2 separate regions of the Homo sapiens genome follow, and region 2 is linked to region 1. The links are contacts of gene promoters, found by promoter capture Hi-C in human tissues and cell types (Jung and others, 2019). All regions are on one chromosome and are shown on one strand. Each heading gives the region's core, a stretch centred on a gene start or on the middle of the fragment in contact. The rest is flanking DNA. Distances are from core to core; before and after follow the strand shown. Region 1 holds the start of ACTC1 (actin alpha cardiac muscle 1). Region 2 has its middle 36 kb from the start of LINC02252.

Region 1 (5,301 bases), core at 1,197-3,696:
TCCCACTAGAGCCAATGGTCCTGAGATGAGGGGGCTGGAAGTGGCCTCCTAGATCCCCGAAGCCTGTGCGAAGGACAAAGGTCAATAATCATGGTTTTCCATTCCTGAGAGTCTTTGCACCTATAGCAGTCATAGTGGGAGTCTCTCACCAGCCACTCCCATGCAGAAACTCTTTCTCTCACACAAATGTTCATAAACTTCAGTTCTGCTCTACTTTTAAAAACGAACAACACATCCTGGGGAAGGCTTTCTCGGCAACTCTTTCAGACCTCCATTCCCTTTTTGTGACTATCCTGCTGATACCTCTTCTTCCCTCCCAGTTTGTGCCATAGCTGTCTGACTTTTCTGTAATTGCCACGGAGGATGAGTCCTGCTCTGTTTTATTTATCACTGAATCCTTAACTAGCACAGTTCTTGTCCTGCAAAGATTTGCTGAATCAATGAAGAATGAAATCAACCTGATTCTTTAAAAGGCAGAGCTACTACTGCCTCCAAAAGTATCATTATTACACATACAATTTGCTTTGTATCTTCCATATTACTTACAGCATTTGTTTCTAACTATTACAATACACAATAACTTCTGCAACAAGTGTTATGGTATCACTTTTGAGAGGGAAAACTTGGGGCTTGGGAAGGTTAAGTGTCTTGCTCAAGACCAAACAGATAGTTAGTAAGTGATAAAGGCAGCATTTGAGCCCAGTTCTGTCTGGCTCTGACACCAGTCCCATTTCTCCTTTTCCTTGGTTTTTCTATATTTTCACGAGACAAGGCAGTTCTACTCTTGGCATCCTGTCAATAAACATTTTCACTGTAAAATGCCTGCTGTGCTGCACAGAGTAATCTCAGCCAGGTCTCTTACCCGACCCCACCACACAGCTGCCCATCGCGTTTCTTCTCCAGACCAACCCAAACATGGTTGGGGAGTTCAGAGGGGAGGGCCCAGCATTCCCCAGTCGGGACAAGTATCTAATCAGCAGGCCTCCTCAGCATATCAGCCCAAGACCACTCTAGAGAGAGATGCCAGTGCCCAGTTTTCTATTTTTAACTGGTGTGAACTGGAGGAAAAACACAAGCATTAAAAATCAAAGCTCCAGTCAAGAACTGAGAATGCAGGGCACCCCAGGGCAAACTAGTGATCTGTGTCCTTCTTACATCTCCCTCTTCCTTCTCCCTCTCCTCATTTCATGTCATTTTTCTTTTTCCTTCTCAAAAGTTCAAGATCCTGCAAAATCTGTTTTCCACAGAGGAGATGATATCTGTCATTTATGCCAATGCTTCTCACACTTTAATGTACATACCAAGCAAATGAGGATCTTGCTGAAAAGCGGATTGGGATGGCTCTTGAGATTGCATTTCTAGCTCATTTCCAGGTTATGACAATACTGCTTGTCCATGGGCTGCACTTTGAGTAGCAAGGATTGGTGTAGTCCTATAGTTTAAGTTGTTGCTATGTTCTCCATCAAAGTATTTGCCTTTGCAGTCTTGTCTCCACCTGGAGTGAGGGCCTCTGCCCCCAGTTTAAAGATGCTCATCTCCCCACCATCAAGTGGGCAAGCTACTTTTGGCATTTGTTCCTTTATTCACTTTGGCAGCAGGGGATCCTTTTCTGGCCTGAAGACCAGAGTCTGAATTTGAGCAAAACCCTGCAGCATGGATGAGGGCTACCCAATAACTGGGCTGGGGTAAACCTGGTCCCTTCTCCAGCAAGACTTGGCCAAGCTCTCACAGAAACCCTTTTCTGACTCTTCCCTGGCCAGACCCTGATCCATGCATGGGTTGGAACTCGGGTGGCCTTGGTTAATCTCAGCTTTCTGACCTAGATGAGCCCAGCACCAGCTCTCTGAGTAAAGCCATTCAGGCTGGCGGGGACTAGACCAGAAGGGTGCCCTGTCCTGGGTGCCCCTTTTGCAGCCACTCAGATGTGCTGCTGCGGTGTCCTTTGTGCTGGTGGCAGCCCTGGAAGATGAGAAGCCGCTGTTGCTCCCCTGCTGCCCTGGCCCAGCTGTCAGGACCCCTCAGCAGAGGGCAGGGCGCCAAGCCTTCCCACTGCATGTGGCTTATTGTCCCCAAGGCTGGCAGGGCTGCGGAGGACCGAATCCACAGACCATCCAGGGAGCACCCACACCCCAGAAAGGGGGAGGGGTGGGCTGGCGTCACTTAGTCTTCCCCTGCCCCCTACCCTTCAGCGCCTGCCCCTCCCCAGCTCCCTATTTGGCCATCCCCCTGACTGCCCCCTCCCCTTCCTTACATGGTCTGGGGGCTCCCTGGCTGATCCTCTCCCCTGCCCTTGGCTCCATGAATGGCCTCGGCAGTCCTAGCGGGTGCGAAGGGGACCAAATAAGGCAAGGTGGCAGACCGGGCCCCCCACCCCTGCCCCCGGCTGCTCCAACTGACCCTGTCCATCAGCGTTCTATAAAGCGGCCCTCCTGGAGCCAGCCACCCAGAGCCCGCTGCCGCCGGAGCCGAGCCGACCCGCCCCGCCGACGGTGAGTCAGCGCCCGGCCCTCCGCGTTCACTCCTCGCCTGGTCCGCGGGCCGCGCCGGACGCCAGCCCCGCGCCGCCACCTGGCCAGCCCGGCCCGCATTCAGCCAAGGCCCCAGCTCCTGCCGCTCTGCGACTGCCTTTTTTTTTTTTTTTTTAAAGCCCACACTTTTTGATTTGGTTCTAACTTGTTTTGTCCTGGGCGTTGGTCCTCGCAGGACCTCGCAGGGGCTCTAAGAAGGGGAATTTTGTGGCTCCCCAAGGGGCTTTTGGGTCCCTACTCTCGTGCGCTTTCCCCTCCATCTGGGGCACAGGCATGGCGATATGGACAGGGCTGGAGATCGAGTTCCCAGTTCGTGAAAAGGAAGAAAGTTAAAGGGCTGGGGAGGACTAAGGGGCTGGGTTTCTTGGGTCCCTCCTTGCACCTGGCACCCTAGCTGGAACTCCTGGCCAGGGAGCCTGGGTGGATTCCTCTGCCCTTCTCTGTCCCCAGTCTCCTCCGCGGCTTCTTCCCTCCCTTTTATGATTCGAGGGGAAGGGAGGTGGCAGGAGTGTTCCCCGCCCAACCCCCTGTCCAGTCCCCACAACCCCCTTCTGCTCTGTCCTGTCCTCTGGGTGCGGAGAAGGCCAGCTGCACAGGCAGCTAAGCGTGGTCCGCCCTCCCCTCCTCAACCTGCAGAACCCCCTGAAGCTGTGCCAAGATGTGTGACGACGAGGAGACCACCGCCCTGGTGTGCGACAACGGCTCTGGGCTGGTGAAGGCCGGCTTTGCGGGCGATGACGCGCCCCGCGCTGTCTTCCCGTCCATCGTGGGCCGCCCGCGGCACCAGGTAAACTTCCCGCCGAGCCCCCCGTCCCACTCGGGACCCCTTCAGTCCAGCGATCTAGGAAATGGCTCTCACCTGACCCTCTTGTTCGATGAACTCTTTAGGCCAAATTAAGAGAAGGCTGATTGACTTCAAATCCAAGCCAAGGCAAGCAATACTCCACAAAACCCCAACATACTGAGGAATGTACACCTGAGTGGCACGCCTCTAAAAGGGTCCCACTCCCTGGTGTGAAAGCCACCTGCTTCTCTCCACTAATGGCCTTTTGGACTTTTAGTCTTTAGTGTCTTCTCTGCCTTATACACTTCATTTTCTTCCTTGTCCTCTCTTTTCAGTCCTGTTTAAAACTTCTAACAATATCACCTCTCCCAACCAACCAGGACCAAATCCACATTCCTCTCTCATGTTCACAGCCAGTTTACAGGGTTCCCCAAAGGTGTAATCAATCTATCTCCTTCCTGGCTGTTGCATTTTTAGAAGCCAGGCGTGACAGAGGCAGCAAGTGCCATGGTGATAGTGACATACCACCTCGTTTGTTAAAAGACATGCCATGCTCTCTGGGTTTGTCACATGCCTGGCCAGACAGGCTGCCAAGCAGGAGAGCTTAGTCCTCAGAGCTGGTGAATGACTCCAGAACAGCTCTGGACAGGCTGAATTTCACTGTTGGAGTGAGGATGGCATATCAGCCCATCATTATGTGTTCACTTGAATGTCAAAATCTTTTTCTTAGGAGAAATACAATGTGTCATTAATTCAGTCATTCCAAAATGCAGTCATCTATATTCCAGTTGACATGGGTGATGAGCTTAATAACTTAATGAAGGCATATGATATTTTTAAGGTGAGGTGAGGCTCTGCTTCTTCAGTGGAATAGCTTCATTCTCTCCTGAGTTATATTCTCAACAATAGAATTATACATCTTTGGGGGAGTGGGGAGAAGGTAGAAGATTGATTTTTAAATAATTCTTCTAAATTGGGGTAAAATCGTATTGCTTGTTATTTCTGGTATTTAAATATGTTCCTTGACTTGGGCAGTTAGATATAAATGGACAAGACACTGATTATATTCCTGACATGGTGAGAGCATGATTTTCTCATTTTTTCTTCTCATAGGGAGTTATGGTGGGTATGGGTCAGAAGGACTCCTACGTAGGTGATGAAGCCCAGAGCAAGAGAGGCATCCTGACCCTGAAGTATCCCATCGAGCATGGTATCATCACCAACTGGGACGACATGGAGAAGATCTGGCACCACACCTTCTACAATGAGCTCCGTGTGGCTCCCGAGGAGCACCCCACCCTGCTCACAGAGGCCCCGCTGAACCCCAAGGCCAACCGGGAGAAGATGACTCAGATCATGTTTGAGACCTTCAATGTCCCTGCCATGTACGTGGCCATCCAGGCAGTGCTATCCCTGTATGCTTCTGGCCGTACCACAGGTATGCTGGGCTCTGGGGACAGTTACTGATGAATCACATTCCCAAGTCACCGACCTTGCTGTGAATCAGATCCCCCAGTTGAAAAAGGGATAATCCCTTTCCTCCCATTCCCTAGCAAGGTCTGTGCTAAGAGAAAGAGTTAACAGTAGTGCCCTGAGGTTAGTTTCGGAGCACAATTATTGTTGGAGCTGATAGCTTGTGGAGATAGGTCCTTCCCTCATTTAAAGCTCAGCGCAGTGTAGCAGCTTGGAGTGCAGCAGTCATTGTTATGTGTTTAAACCATCACATCACCTGGGCAAGCATCCCCAAGGAGAATACATTCCATACAGGGTCTGAGTCAAAAGAGAGAGAAACGTGTAAGTTCAATAGGAGCAAAGAAAAACACCCTTGGGTGCTTACATAATGTGCTCGTGGCTGACAAGAAAGATGGTCATTTGAAAGTGTCCTCGGGAATTTTTTCTACTATAATAGTTAAAAAGATGAGCTGCAGTTTGCTTCAGATTTAGTATTCCTGATGCGCATTTTTATTCTTTGTGTGTAAGGAATCTAAT
Region 2 (5,296 bases), core at 1,539-4,038, 180 kb after region 1:
AGTTCTTAGGAGGAAAAAATATGGTGCTTGTTTTCAAATCTCTTTGTACCAACGGCAACTTAGAATAAACAACATATACATGTCTTAGATCATATGTGGTAGGTAATGCTGTTCCCCAGATGCCAGTTTCCAGGACAAGAGTGCACTTTTATCCCAATAATTTATTCCAATAATCAGACTATTAAAACACCCTTTTAGGTGAAATTTTTCTTAATGTTTCATAAACTACAAAAATATATACGACAACAAAATATTAGTACCCTGGCCAGGATTAGAAACACAAAAATCCAATTACAGTTGTTGTTTTTTTTTTCAAGAAAAAAAAGGAAAGAAAAAATATGTGAACAGTTTACATAAACCAGGAAAAAGCTAATCATAAAGAAATAAAAAAAATGTATAAAAAGTTCTTTATCACACAAGGTATGTTAAAGGAATGGGGGATATTGCAGAATTTTATTTTGGGGTGGCTTAGGGCTGACATTGACCAGTCCACAGTCCTATTAGTTGTGGTCCTCTATGGTTTAATTAAACGCTTCCAGAAAATAAAAGTGAAGCCTTTCATCTTGACCCTTTTTCAACTTTTCTCCTCTAAGACACTTTAAAAAAAAAAAACCACAATTATTATAGAACCCATCAGTTTGTATTTGATCTCTATTTTTTTCCCAAAAATACATCTCGACTTCCCACGCATTATTTCCTAATTCCAAAAATGGGTATCATGGATTGTTAAGCATGCACTTAACACTAAACAGGTTGACTGTTCTGGGAAAGATCTCGCATACTTAATTACCATTTTATTTCATCCGGTACAAGAATGCCATCTACAGACATGACTGCGCATTTCCATGAGCTTCTCTGAAAGAACTGAAAATAAATGCTATAAGGAAGGATTCCAAAAAATGTAGCTATTATCCTGATTCTTTTGTAACATTTGTTCTTTTTTGGACTAAAATAAGTTTGAAGAACAATTCATTCCCATTATGTACCATGAAAATGTTCTGTGCAATCCATGCATTTATAATCCAAGAGAGTTCTAATCCCTGTCGAAAGACAGAACAATATGTTGAGAGCTGGCATTGCATTTTGGTGTTTTGGAGAAATCACAAAATAAAATGGACTAGGTATATGATATGGGCATTCCTACAAAGTGTTTAAAATGAAGCTAAAATTCAGAATTAACACCGATGAAATAATTTAAATTACTTCCTAAGTTGCAATAATAGACTTCCAGAACAAAAATTGTTTATACTGGAGAGATGGAAAAAGAAAAATACATGTTCTTAGTACAGACACTTGACATCTTTTTTCCTTTAACTCTCACGCCTTCTCACTTGTGAGGCAAGTTTTAACTGAGCCATACGCAGGTTAATTAATTTACCAAGTCCACACTGCTAAGAAGTGATAGGGTGAAGATTCAGACATGTGATCACTAACCTCAAGTCTAATCCACTTTCCATTGTACTAAAGCCATAAATCTCAAGGGAAATCCTTCACAGCTTTAAAAATGGGGAAGGGGATTTGATACTCTCACTGTTCTAGGGAAACTTGCAAAAAGTGTCTTCTATGTAGCTTTAAAATACACATTATTACACACCAACTGCTAAGCCCTGCTGCACCGGATGTTTTTCTTGCAAAGACATACTATAAATAAAAACTGTAATAAAATATGATCCAGGAAACAGCTGGATGCTGGGATAAAAACACATAAATGACTAAGTAGTAAATTACCTTTCACTTGATTTCAATGCTGGGTGAATTCATCCTTTCTTAAACTAGACAAAATAGGAAACAGCAATGAGTGACCCCAACTGAGTGCATCCTTTCCCTCCCTGAAAGCAAATCCATCACATTCTTCCTGTGATGCTTCCCTACGGAAGTACCATCTCCTTGAAAGAAAGAAGCAAAACCTAGAATTCTCCAATTGCCATTCTTTTATGCATTCACTCAACAATACTTTCCAGTGCCCACCTTGAGTATCACAGGTAGACAGTATACAATTTTGGAAAAAACAAACACAATACTTGCACATGAAGAGCTTACAGTAGCAGAACGGTGAGGGGTTGGGAGGCAGGGCAGTCAACATGCAAATAAATTACACACAGTAAATCATCATTAAATATTTATTAAATGAAGCCTGTCCTTGCTAACCTAGGCCTTACTGATCTCTCCCTCTCATCTTTCTGAGGATCAGAACACTTAAAATTTTGTAATATTATCTAGCTAGGTAAGCTTCCCAGGGAATGGAACAATATGTTATACTCCTTTGCTCTCCTAACATAACCAAATACAATATATCAGCAAGCACAGTGTTTCATGATGTTCCAGGGGAAGTAGAGGAAGTGGGAGGGAGGAGTGGCATGAGGGAAGGAAGAAGAAGTAGACAAACAAAGAAGGAAGTGGAGAAAGAGGTGGTTTCATTTGAATTACTTGCTTTTAGGAAAAATAAAATATGTCTAACTCATGAAAAAATGAATTTTATGTACGTGGAAACTAAACTGAAATGGTAGAAAAACACAGATCTAGACAGAAGCACTGTTTTAGTCTTAAGTGAGAAACTGAGTCTCATTTATGGTGTGGAGGCACCGGAGGAGCCGGAGCTGAGCCTGGTGGTGTCATTGACAGCAGCTGGAGGGAGGATACATCACATCATGCTCACTAAGGAATCATAATGTCCAGATTTTCATTTCTTTGAGTCAGATGATTTATGTGCCTGTGGAGCAGCACACTACCACACCATCGATATCATTATTTTGTGGATACAATGCTATAAAAATACAAATGTTAGAAGAATTCAAGGAAAGAGAGGAAAATAGAGGAGTAAACAGTATAAATTGCTTTGCCTCACTTATCCACCAAGAGCAATGCGTGCTCTGGTTGGCTGTGGTCTCTGACTTTACTTTGTCTTCCAGGCTGGAGTGCAGTGGTGCAATCATGGCTCACTACAGTCTCGACCTCCTGGGTTCAGGACTCCTGAGTAGCTGGGACTACAGGTGTGCACCACCAGGACTGGCTAATTTTTCATATTTTTGTTGTAGAGATGGAGTTTCACTGCATTGCCCAGGCTAGTTTCAAATTCCTGGCTTCAAGTGATCCTCCCGCTTTGGCCTCCCAAAATGCTGGGATTAGAGGTGTGAGCCACCACATTCAGCTTCTTTCTTTAATGAAGGTAGTAGCCTTCCTAGTCATTCTATTGCAGGCTTATTGGTCTTGTAAAATTAGCATTGAAAACAATGGTTAATTTCCACATTCAGACTCATACAGTTCTTTAAACAATTGGAATGCAAGTTATGTCTATAATGTTCTTGAAATATTCCAAATGGCCCAGAGAAACTTGACCGCAGGTGTTTGCTACCCTCATATATAACAGCATTCAGTTAAAAAATTAAGTTGTGGCTGGGTGCGGTGGCTCATGCTGGTAATCCCAGCACTTCGGGAGGCTGAGGTGGGCGGATCACCTGAGGTCAGGAGTTCAAGACCAGCCTGGCTAACATGGTGAAACCCCATCTCTATAAAAAATATGAAAATTAGCCGGGCGTGGTGGCGGGTGCCTGTAATCCCAGCTACTCAGGAGGCTGAAACAGGAGAATCACTTGAACCCGGGAGGCGGAGGTATCAGTGAGCTGAGATTGCGCCATTGCACTCCAGCCTGGGTGACAAGAGTGAAACTCCATTTCAAAAAAAAAAAAAAAAGTTGCAGTAGAATACATATAATCAAAAGCTACTGAATTCCACTAAGAACTTGCAAATGAATTTTAATATCCTGCTTGTAAAACTACTGAATATTATGGTCTTAGGTTCCTTTTCCCCTTCTATGCTGTTGGAACTAAATATACAAAACCTGCAAATGGGAGCTAGCTAGCTAGATATGGATATGTATCTACGTATACAGAGAGAAACATCAACAGACATACATATAAATACAAATATATGTGATATAGTTTCAAGAGTACATGAAGTATCCCTGAAAGCTATATTAAAACTTTCAGTTAAGATAATCCAACATCAGTCTAAATATTATCTTATCAAAACCAGTGTACACATGAACAGGGTTTAACTTTTGTGAGAGAAAGTATTTTAAATGCTTAAATAGCTAAGCCTTTAAAAATGCTATGCTTATTTTCTTATTTATTTGGTTTTCTAAACTAATTAGGTTATTTCCAATGCAAAATTTCTTGCTTTTACAAAAACAGTAGATACTGGGAGAAATTTGAATCAGTTCAATGCCTGGCACCTTTTCTAAATATCCCCCATTATATCCAATACTTGGCAAAATTCATCCCTAACCCCAGCTTCTGACCTGAAAACCATGTGTGAGGATGCTTCTGATATTGATCATCCTGGCTTCTGCTCTGTCAAAGACCAACCCGGCCTTGGCACCAACCACCTTGTGAAAGAATACAGTTCTGTTCTGCAGATCCTCTTTAGTGAGGTCTGGAGGTTCTCAAACAAGAGTTTGAGACTTGGCAGCCCAATACATGGCTGCCTCTGTACTGCACCACAGCAGCCGAAATCTTAGCAGCTAGTCAAAAGCTAGTGAAAATGTCAAAGTTACAAAGCTCCTCTCAGGGCTCCAAAGAAGCAAGAGAGCTTTCAGCAGGATCATAACAGGTGCATCAAAGTAATGCCAAGGGGAGAAAAAGACTTCTTGGACCTAGCAACAAATAAAAATTATAAAAGTAAACATGCACACATAAACCCTGTTTTATATTTGTCAAAAAGGCCCCTTTCAATATTCAGCAAGTAACTGCAAGAGGATCAAAAGAGACCTGTATAAACTACAAGAGGTGACAAGTATAAGAATTGTTTCCAGCTTAAAGAAGATTGAAATGTCTCACTTTGGAATTTCAAGTCACAGAAATGTAGTACTTCTGTGACACTTTGGGTTTAAACTGCACAAAATGTATTTTTAACAGGCAAAATGTATGTGAGAGACAATGAATATAGACTTCATTTGGGCTCTGTGTTTCTTGACAGCATTCCAAAGATGTCAAGATATTTTTACCAATATACTCTTGCAAACTGGGTCAGAAGGTAGAAAAAGCGAGAGCTTTCTGAGTTTTCAAATGTTGTCTTCATTTCTGCTATTGAGGTTTATGTTACTACTACAGTCAAGTGATTGGTGATAAAGATTAACAGAAATCGAGAAAGCTACCCTCTTTCTCTGCTGGTGAATAGGATGAAAATGCTGAGAGAGGGAAGTAACTACAGAATAAAAACTCAATGCAGGAAACTGTGGAATACTGAAGAATATACCAAACAAAAATGAATATGTACTAGAAAAATGCTGGACTGGAAT

The links. The method cuts DNA at HindIII sites, captures the fragments that hold promoters and counts their contacts. A contact is called where the count stands out against the background at its distance.
Region 2: a fragment that was not itself captured here is called in contact with the fragment with the promoter of ACTC1 in region 1 in 2 of the 25 tissues and cell types used here (IMR-90 fibroblasts and bladder).

Annotation. Positions count from the first base shown.
Region 1 is chr15:34,792,694-34,797,994 of GRCh38, reverse strand. It overlaps ACTC1 (actin alpha cardiac muscle 1), which reads left to right and starts at 2,446. Exons shown (of 7, transcript NM_005159.5): 1 at 2,446-2,489; 2 at 3,165-3,315; 3 at 4,426-4,750. The coding sequence starts at 3,187. The region is part of intron 2 of GJD2-DT (GJD2 divergent transcript); the gene reads right to left. RefSeq lists an enhancer at 828-1,299. The HindIII fragment of the contact is 17,333 bases long and covers 1-5,301 here.
Region 2 is chr15:34,617,404-34,622,699 of GRCh38, reverse strand. No RefSeq gene overlaps it. Among named protein-coding and RNA genes, the nearest start is that of LINC02252, 36 kb to the left of the region's middle. The HindIII fragment of the contact is 5,582 bases long and covers 1-5,296 here.